Regions from separate parts of the Homo sapiens genome. Here all the other regions are linked to region 1. Evidence: promoter capture Hi-C in 16 types of primary human blood cells and fetal thymus (Javierre and others, 2016). All regions are on one chromosome and are shown on one strand. The core of a region is centred on a gene start or on the middle of the fragment in contact, and the rest is flanking DNA. Distances in the headings are between cores, read along the strand shown. Region 1 holds the start of NPAS2 (neuronal PAS domain protein 2). Region 2 overlaps NPAS2 (neuronal PAS domain protein 2). Region 3 has its middle 7.3 kb from the start of LINC01849.

Region 1 (3,374 bases), core at 209-2,708:
ATGACAGAAAAGGGCCAGCGGGGGCGCTTTCCTTCCAGGGCCACTTGCCGGAATGTAAGAGGGACGGAGAGACGTCCGGAAAAGGCTGCCACGCTCGGAGCGCTGCGCCAGGCCAGGCACCTAGGCCAGGGGAGCGGAGACCTCGTGGGAGCGGGCAGGGGGACCTTTCCCCTCTCCCGGGCTTCCACCCAGGCGCCTCCCCGCTGTGAACGCCGCCGCCCAGGTGAAGGGGAAACCGGCCACGTTTCCGGACCTCGGCGGGGCACACGGTCTCCGGTTTTCACCGGCTCTGTCTTGGAGCCCCGAAGGGCATCAGACAGCAGCCCCGGCACCCGGGGATTATTCCTGTACCTCTGCCTCCCTCCGCTTGGCGTTTGCGGGAACCTTGGTAAAATCCTCCCTGTTTCTCGCGCGCGCCTCTCTCTCCAGCTTCTTTTTCTTGGATTCTCGCCTGTCTCCTCCCACAGAGGAAAAAAAAAAAAAGGTCACGTATGTTTGGAAAAATATGTAGGTCAGTGGAACATTTCCTGCACTGGTGCAAAAGGAGAGGAGGGCAGCGGAGGAGGGGAGGGAGAGGCAGAGTGGAGCTCCAAGTGCCCGCTCCTGGCCGCAGCCCCACACCCCACGTGCCCCTGCCGGGGAGGGGGGCAATTAGCCGGTTCCTTTCCATCCTTGACCCATTTTCCGGACCAGCTACGTTCGCCTTAGGACAGGCACTGGTTATTCCTCCCCAGCAGTCGCTGCTGTCCTCCGCCGACCACCGCTCGCCCGCATCTTCCCCGACCCCCGCCTCCCACCTGCCCCCGGGCCGCACCCCCGCCGCTCATTGAGAAATCGCAGTGGTCCCCGCAGAGACGCGCTTTGTGCCCTGGGTCGAGACCTGCGCGCAACCCTGCCCCTGGAGGACAGTGTGGAGGGGGTGACAGTCGCGTGCTCGTCCCCCTTCATCCCCTGCGCGGGACAGCAGGGTGGCGGCCCGCACTGCGAGGGTCTACACTAGGCGGGGGCGGCAGATTCCTTGTTCCCCCCGAGTGACAACTTTAATGGGACCTCGGCTGGCAGCCTCTAGTCCACTTGCCTCTCCTCTGGGCCGGCTCACCTGGAAGCACAACCCCCCCCTCCCCCAGCCCCGGCGCCCAACCCCGACCCTGCGCCCCAGGCCCGACCCCGCCGCGCGTCCCTGGCAGCCCAGCAGAGGCTGCGGCGGCCTGGGGACTCGCGGGTGTCTGCGCCGCCCAGGGAAGCCGGGGGTCTAGGGGGCCGGGGGTCCGTCTGCCTGCGGCGCGCGCGGGGTGCTTGTCCCAGGCTGGGTCGGGGCCAGGAGAGACCCCGCAGGCGGAGGCAGGCGAGGGGAGGAGGAGGAGGGTGGGGGTAGGAGGGGGAGGTGGAGAGGGAGGAGGGTGGAGGGAGGAGGCAGGGGAGGAGGCAGAGGCGGAGGCGGCTCTCCCCGCCGGCTCTGCGTGCGGAAGAGTTTGCCGCGCGAGCAGCCGGCCTCTCGCAGGAGCCGAGGGACCCGCGCGGCTGCGGCCCAGGAGCGGCGGCCGCGGAGCCCGGAGACCCGCAGCCGCGGCGGCGGCGGCGGCGGCGGCAGCAGCTAGAGCAGCGCCTCCCGCCGCCGCCCGGGAGGAGCTCGCCGCGCCCGCTCGCCGCCTCGTCTCCCAGCGGCGGCGGGAGGCGCGTCTCCCCGGCCCAGTCCGCGCCCGGCCCCGCGGGGCCGCTCCGGCCCGCTCCGAGGTAAGGGGCCGCGCCTAGGGGCGCGGGGGACCCAGGGTGGGTAGTACGTGCGCGCGGGGTCGCAGGACTCGGTCACCTGCTCGCCAGCGTGGAGGACGCGCGGGGGCGGAGGGGCGCTCAGGCGCGAGGCTGCGCGGCACCGGGGACCCCGGACGCGGGGGCGCGGAGAGGTGGGTTCCCCTCCACAGTCAGGCCGCTGGGGGCTTCGCGTCCTGCAGGAGGTAGCAATCGCTGGGCCGGTGGGCTCCGGGCGCGTCTCGACGCAGAAGACAGAGGACTGGGCATCCGAGCCTCGGAATTTGGGGGTCCTCGGGGTGTCCGACAGGGTGGAGAAGGATCGTGCCCCAGGGCAACAGCTTTGGGGATTGCCCGTGGTTGTCTTCGAGACCCATCGCGCTACCCTCCGAAACGTCGGGCGTCCTGGACCCCCGGAGAGTGCGGCGTGCGCGCCCTGGGCCCGCGGTCTCTCGGAGTCCCTGGGTCGGAATTGGTTCCGGGCCGGATTGGGTGCGGAATCGGTGCCCCCAACCCCCGTGTGCGCAGACAGCGTGCAGCCTGGCTCCTCACGTCGCTGCCGCCCCCCCACCCCAACTCCGGAGCTCCCCAGGTTGGATGTATGCGTATGGTTTTGTTGGGAGATGTGCCCCTTTCCCAGCCGAGGAGGGACGCACCTTTGACCTTTCTGAAGAGCTGGGCAGGTCGGTAACCAGGGAAGGGACAGGCACCACCCGGCTAAATTCAGAACCAGTCCCGCTCCTCTGCTTGCCACTCCTTAATTGCTCAAGGTAAGAAAGTTTGTTTCAGCCCTGTGATTCATAAATAATTAGTAACTAGTTTTGTTGATTAAGCAAGATGGAAACCTTGAATATACGCACGCACTTCCACAAAGTCTAAACACTCCCGAGCTTGTGTCCGGGAGGCTTTAGTACGGAAAGTTAGAAGCCCTGGAGTTCAACAGGTGTTCAGGAGGGTCCCGGAGAGGAGTTTCGTCTTTACGCGTTGCTTTGGCATCCACCCCAACTTCATTAAAGTGGTTAGCCTGTTTTCCTACAGGTAAAACATTGATCACTTATTAAATTAACTTAATCAGCAGAGACGAGCTAAACCGTCTTGATCATTTAGAACCCAAACCTTATTTTCCTTAATAGAAAGGTTTTTCCTGTTTGAACTTCCCAGGTAATTAGTTCTAAAGTAGTTCCCAGCAAGACATCTCTGCCAGCATCTCTCTCTCACTGTAGCTTGGTCCCCATCAGTGAATTGACCAACTAATTATGGCTTGCATTAAACACAGAGCTGCCCTCCTTGGGAGGCACTGTTCACATTCAAGCGCACACACTAGCTCCATCTTCCTGCCACTAAGATGTCCTTAAAGGAAAAAGTTAGCCAAAAATAACCCCCAAATAAATAGTGTAATGTTTAAAAGAGTTATCCTGACCTGCGCCACTATTTTATAAAAGCAAAAATTCAGTGTTTCATTACAGCGCTAAACCAGGACCAGTAGAAGTATTGGTATCTCTCAGCAGTCTACTTAAATATTTAGTTAAAAATAAAGTGTGCAAAGTAAAGACGTTCAGTAATTATCTTCCATCTCACAGAGAGATGTGGAGTATGGCTTAGAAGAATTGTAAATGCGCTGCTTT
Region 2 (3,121 bases), core at 491-2,990, 150 kb after region 1:
TGCTGGGAACCTCAGGCTATGACTACTACCACATTGATGACCTGGAGCTCCTGGCCAGGTGTCACCAGCACCGTGAGTACCACTGCCCAGCCCAGGCATGGGGGCCTTGCGTTCACTCCACTGGGGCCCAGCAGCAGGGCTCTGGGACTCCAGAAGCCTCTGCTCGTTACCTGGTTTCTTTTTAAGGTGAGGAACTTGGTTTTCTCTGAGATGATCTGGGGGCATGGTGGAGGCCCCTTATCCGCGTCTACCCCCATGTCACTGGAATTCACTTGGCCCCAAACCCTAGCACCTTCCCACTGTCATCCAGATAGGCGCCCTGTTTAAACCTAATTAAGAAATTAAGGTGATGCAGGGATTTTTTTTTTTAAGTTATGCAATACATTTCAGAGATAAAATACCGAATTCTCATAACTGTTCTTTCATCAGCAGATAAGTATTGGTCACTAACCATAGGCCAGATACTGAGTAGGCTGGCATATGGGGATGATCAGTACCTACTTGCTGTCCCGCAGGGCAGGTCTTCTGGGAAAGCCAGAAATGGGTGACTTTGTGGGATGTGGTCGGTGCATTGAAGGGGATGTACACAGCATACTGGGGGACTCAAGAGGACCCTCACAGCTGGGGTTCAGGGAAGGCTCTTTGCCACATACGAGGCGAACACATTAGCAAATGTATGGGGGATGGGACTTACGATGTGGGGGAGTGAGAATTACAAGCTTGTCCGAGTTCTCACTTAGCAAGTGGTTTCAAGAATTAACCACTTACAGCTGTATTTTCAGTGCCAACTCTTAACTTGAAATAGGAACACTGACCTATTGATCCTAATGCATGAATCGACCACTAACATTGTGCTTTAAAAGATGCCTCACCTGTAGTACCCATTAGAACTTTTTTTTTTTTTTTTTTTTTTGAGACAGACAGATTCTCGCTCTGTCACCCAGGCTGGAGTGCAGTGGCGCAATCTCGGCTCACTGCAAGCTTCACCTTCTGGGTTCAAGCAATTCTCCCACCTCAGCCTCTAGAGTAGTTGGGATTACAGGCGTGTGTGCCACCACGCCCAGCTAATTTTTTGTATTTTTAGTACAGACAGGGTTTCACCATGTTGGTCAGGATGGTCTCAAACTCCTGACTTCAAATGATCTGCTCACCTCGGCCTCCCAAAATGCTTGGATTACAGGCATAAGCCACTGTGCCTGGCTAGAACTTTCTCTTCTGTGGAGAGGGAAGGAAGAATAGGCTTGAGTTCCATCTGGATCGGCTGTTAGAATTTAAAGCTAATCATTAAAACTGTAACTCCTTGCTCCTCAAAGCGTGGTCTAGGACCACACTGCATAGGCATCACGGGAAGTTTGCTACACTTGTAGAATCAGGCCTACTCAGAGTGTCTATTTTAACAAGATCCCGAAGTGAAGAATTACATTCAGCAATTGAAAGGCTTCTCCATGGCTTGGGCAAGACCTCCTTGCCCTGTGGAGCCCACACCCTCAATCTGCTGGGCTTATCTCCTCTTCAGATAATCACATTCTCCAAGTCAGTGTCCTTTTTTTTTTTTTTTTTTTTTTTTTTTGAGACAGAGTCTCACTCTGTCACCCAGTCTCGGCTCGCTGCAAGCTCCGCCTCCCGGGTTCACGCCATTCTCCTGCCTCAGCCTCGTGAGTAGCTGGGACAACAGACGCCCGCCACCACACCCGGCTAATTTTTTGTATTTTTAGTAGAGATGGGGTCTCACCGTATTCGCCAGGATGGTCTCGATCTCCTGACCTCATGATCCGCCTGCCTCAGCCTCCCAAAGTGCTGGGATTACAGGCATGAGCCCCTGTGCCCAGCCATCAGTGTCCTTTTGTAGCGTTAGTTTCCTAGTTGAGATTTCTCTTAACCATTTACCTAAAGAGGTGCTAAGTTCCAGGCACTATGGCAATAAAACCCAAATCATTCTTCTTCCTTGGATCCGTAGTCCATCTTTCTGCCCTGCCCAGGCTTGATACACCATCAGCATCCATTCTGCTCTGGACACCCCTAGAAAAGCCACCAGCAGACATCACTATGGGGGGGCTGCAAGCAGCTCTGGGGAAGGGGGAAGCCTGGGGTGGAGGCATCTGTCCCCGACTCTTTATTTGAGAACTGTGTCGACTGGGCATGAACTGCTGACTGGCAGCCACAGAATCCGTCCAGAGGTTGCTGGCTGGCAGGTCTGTTTTCGGGCCAATTCTGGATGCTCTCTCCTGGGCTCCTGCAGCTCCAAAGACAGCTCTGCCTGCGGCGGGAGGATGAGCACCAGGCAAACCTGAGCCTCTGTTTCATTAAACCTGCAGTTTGAAAATCTGTCTGCATCTGCCCTTATCTGAGGATCTCTTTAAGCGTCTGAGCATTTGGGAAAGTATATGGATCACTCTTCCACTGTTTAAGAATTCACGACAGTGTACCGTGATCCTGACAGTCACTTAAAATACAGGGCAACCGGGGAAACAAGCCATGTTTGGTATTGTCTTTTTTTTTGAAAGCTTATCTTTACAATAACTCTTGGGGAAAAGATCATTTTCATATTAACATTGGTTATATGCGGAATCCATTTTCTACCGACAGTGATGCAGTTTGGCAAAGGGAAGTCGTGTTGCTACCGGTTTCTGACCAAAGGTCAGCAGTGGATCTGGCTGCAGACTCACTACTACATCACCTACCATCAGTGGAACTCCAAGCCCGAGTTCATCGTGTGCACACACTCGGTGGTCAGGTACCGCGCACGGGCAGGGGTGCGGCTGCGTCCTTGTCGCACCTGGGGGAGGGGTGCAGGATGGCGTGGCCCCTGATGGCCAAGTCAGATCAGCAGTCACTCAGGTGTTCCCCATTTCGAAGATGAAGCCCAGGCCATCCCCTGCCGTTAACAGCACAATTCCCAGAGCTCAGCTCGCTTCCAGGCACCACTGGCTCTGCCCTCCCAGGGCTGAGACTCCTTTCAAGCTCTCAGTCAGGCCCCTTTGAACGCCTCATGGACTCTCGCAGGCTGCCAGGATATTACTTAGTAAGTGACTGCTTCACTGACCTACTTACATATTTTCCCATCTCTATCCAGCCCACAGCCTTCCCTTGTTCCTGCTTTGAGTAGAAAATTTAAATTTTA
Region 3 (3,133 bases), core at 466-2,965, 220 kb before region 1:
TGCTCCAACCCTTCAATTTGTAAAAAACAGTGTATGTAACGTGCAATAACATGAGGTCTTCCTGTAAGTTGGTAAAGGTATTCCTAAAAATGTCCTTCCATTCAGAGTCCAGCTCTAGTGTCTTTTCTGCTAGTTTTGATGCTGGTGCTTTCTTGATCCCACCAGAAGGTGGCATGCAGTGACAACTTTCTTTTTCTTTTTTTCTTTTTTCGAGACGGAGTCTCACTCTGTCGCCAGACTGGAGTGCTGTGGTGCAATCTCAGCTCACTGCAACCTCCGACTCCTGGTTCAAGCGATTCTCCTGCCTCAGCCTCCTGAGTAGCTGGGATTACAGGCATGCACTGCCATGCCTGGCTAATTTTTGTATTTTTAGTAGAGACAGAGTTTCACCATATTGGCCAGGATGGTCTCGATCTCCTGACCTCGTGATCCACCCGCCTTGGCCTCCCAAAGTGCTGGGATTACAGGCGTGAGCCACCGCGCCTGGCCTGTGACAACTTGATCACAGCTGCCACCTGCCACAGTAACCATAAGATGCACCCTGACCTCAGAGATATTAACAATGAGGGGAGGATGCTTAGAACCCATGAAATGTTGTAGTTTTATCCCACAATAGATGAAGGTGTGTTAGGTTATTTTAACCTGACCCTTCTAGCTTTTAATTTTGAAGGCAGATCTTTAACTCCCTGAATCTGTTTATTGACATTTAAAATACTGAATATACCAACTTCCTGAGAAGAAAAAGGCTGTTAATATCCCTGGAATATATATAAAATACAACTTTAAAAAAAAAATTAAAAACCAGTACTTTTCTTTGGTAAGTAACTCTCTCTGAGATGACAATCAGAAAAATTTAAAGAAACCTTGCAAAATACAGCTACATGTTTTACATGAAAATTATACTTAATAAAAAGTTGAATAATTAACAAATCAATCCTTTGTCTTTTAGCAAATGTTACAGAAAAGCATCACAAACTTGCAACTTTTTGTTCCATCTGAGATTTGAGATACCTAAATGAAACAATGTATTACGTGCCTGCACCCAGACACACCCACACACACACACACACACGCACACACACACACACACGCACACACACACACACAGAGTAACTGCAATAACTAGATCCATGTCGGGGTGGATCTATCATCCCCACATTATCTCTCTGGGCACCAAAGGCTTTCTGACTCTGATTTGGTTTCTCAATCTTATTGGGAACAAAAAAAGTGAGAAGTCCAGTACCCTTGGCAGTTATCTTTTCTTGTTTTTCTTTTTTTCTTTTTTTTTTTTTTTGAGATGGAGTCTCGCTCTGTCCCCCAGGCTGGAGTGCAGTGGTGCGATCTCGGCTCACTGCAAGCTCCGCCTTCCAGGTTCTTGCCATTCTCCTGCCTCAGCCTCCCGAGTAGCTGGGACTACAGGCGCCCCCCACCAAACCCGGCTAATTTTTTCTATTTTTGGTAGAGACAGGGTTTCACCCTGTTAGCCAGGATGGTCTCGATCTCCTGACCTCGTGATCCGCCAGCCTCGGCCTCCCAAAGTGCTGGGATTACAGGCGTGAGCCACCGCATTGGGCCGGCAGTTATCTTTCTTAAGTAGCAGTTCTATTTCTCAGTATAAATTAATGCTGCAGTTCCTAAACCATTTGCTGAAGTGCCTCTGAACCCAGTAGCAAGTTCGTGGGCACAGGATAAGTTCTCAAGGGAAGCGCTGCAATACTGAACATTTATTGAATACTTCAGGAACCACCAGCTCCCAACAGTTCGCAGTTCCAATATTAGCTTGCGCTACATTCCTTTGATCTTTCTGAAGTTGGGTTTTTAGCGGTTGCTGTGATAAAAGCAGGTAGAGCTCAAATCAATGTGGAGCAGGATATGAGGGAGAGGTATCTCCAATTTCAAGGTTGGAGGACTTATGCAGCATCCAACAGGTACTTACTCACATTAATAGGTAATTTTCCTTTCACTTTTCATATATATTTGGTCAAGCATCTAAAAGTTTAAGACATAAAACCTTAATAAATTGTTTGACAAAAATAAAAATAAAAATAAATTGTTTGGCGCTAACTGCTTAATAAAAGTCGTTACAGTCTCGCTGAGTGTATGCGGGGGATTGGTGCCAGGACCACCAGCAAATAACCAAATCCTCGTACTCAATCCTGCAGTCAGCCCTGCAGAACCTGCCTATACGAAAAGGTGTTTTTAGGCTGGGTGTGTTGGCTCACGCCTGTAATCCCAGCACTGTGGGGGGCCAAGGTGAGCAGATGACTCGAGGTCAAGAGTTCAAGATCAGCTTGGCCAACATAAGAAAATCCCATCTCTGCTAAAAATACAAATATTAGCCAGCCGTGGTGGTGCAGGCCTGTAGTCCCAGCTACTCAGGAGGCTGAGGCAGGAACATTGCTTGAAGACCCTGGGAGGTGGAGGTTGCAGTGAGCTGAGGTCATGTCACTGCACTCCAGCCTGGGCAACAGAACAAGACTCCATCTCAAAAATAAATAAATAAATAAATAAATAAATAAATAAATAAATAAATAAAAGGTTTTGTTTTGTTTTGTTTTTTGTCTTTTTGAGACAGAGTCTCGCTCTGTTGCCCAGGATGGAGTGCAGTGGTGTAATCTCGGCTCACTGCAACCTCCCTCTCCTGGGTTCAAGCAGGTTTCCTGCCTCAGCGTTGCAGGTAGCTGGGATTACAGGTGTGCACCACCACACTCGGCTATTTTTTGTATTTTTAATAGAAATGGGATTTCGCCATGTTGGCCAAGCTGGTCTCAAACTCCTGACCTCTGGTAATCCACCCATCTTAGCCTCCCAAAGTGCTGAGATTACAAGCATGAGTCAATGCACCTGGCCCTAAAAGGTCTTATAGGCAGGTTTAACATCCGGAGAATACTGTCTTTTCTTTTCTTTTCTTTTCTTTTCTTTTCTTTTTTGAGACAGAGTCTTGCTCTGTAGCCTAGGCTGGAGTGCAGTGGCGCAATCTTGGCTCACCGCAAGCTCTGTCTCCCGGGTTCACGCCATTCTCCTGCCTCAGCCTCCCAAGTAGCTGGGATTGCAGGCACCCGCCACCACGCCCAGCTAATTTTTTGTATTTTTTAGTAGAGATGGGGTTTCACCGTGTTAGCCAGGGTGGTCT

What was found. Contacts are between HindIII fragments. The CHiCAGO score rates a contact against its expected background, and 5 or more counts as called.
Region 2: a contact is called between a fragment that was not itself captured here and the fragment with the promoter of NPAS2 in region 1, in 1 of 17 cell types (endothelial precursors). The highest score is 6.4, in endothelial precursors.
Region 3: a contact is called between a fragment that was not itself captured here and the fragment with the promoter of NPAS2 in region 1, in 3 of 17 cell types (naive CD4 T cells, non-activated CD4 T cells and activated CD4 T cells). The highest score is 6.2, in naive CD4 T cells.

Annotation. Positions count from the first base shown.
Region 1 is chr2:100,818,681-100,822,054 of GRCh38, forward strand. It overlaps NPAS2 (neuronal PAS domain protein 2), which reads left to right and starts at 1,459. Exons shown (of 21, transcript NM_002518.4): 1 at 1,459-1,734. The HindIII fragment of the contact is 7,542 bases long and covers 1-3,374 here.
Region 2 is chr2:100,965,695-100,968,815 of GRCh38, forward strand. It overlaps NPAS2 (neuronal PAS domain protein 2), which reads left to right. Exons shown (of 21, transcript NM_002518.4): 10 at 1-72; 11 at 2,587-2,734. Among named protein-coding and RNA genes, the nearest start is that of NPAS2-AS1, 9.9 kb to the right of the region's middle. The HindIII fragment of the contact is 1,523 bases long and covers 980-2,502 here.
Region 3 is chr2:100,594,890-100,598,022 of GRCh38, forward strand. No RefSeq gene overlaps it. Among named protein-coding and RNA genes, the nearest start is that of LINC01849, 7.3 kb to the right of the region's middle. The HindIII fragment of the contact is 4,254 bases long and covers 1-3,133 here.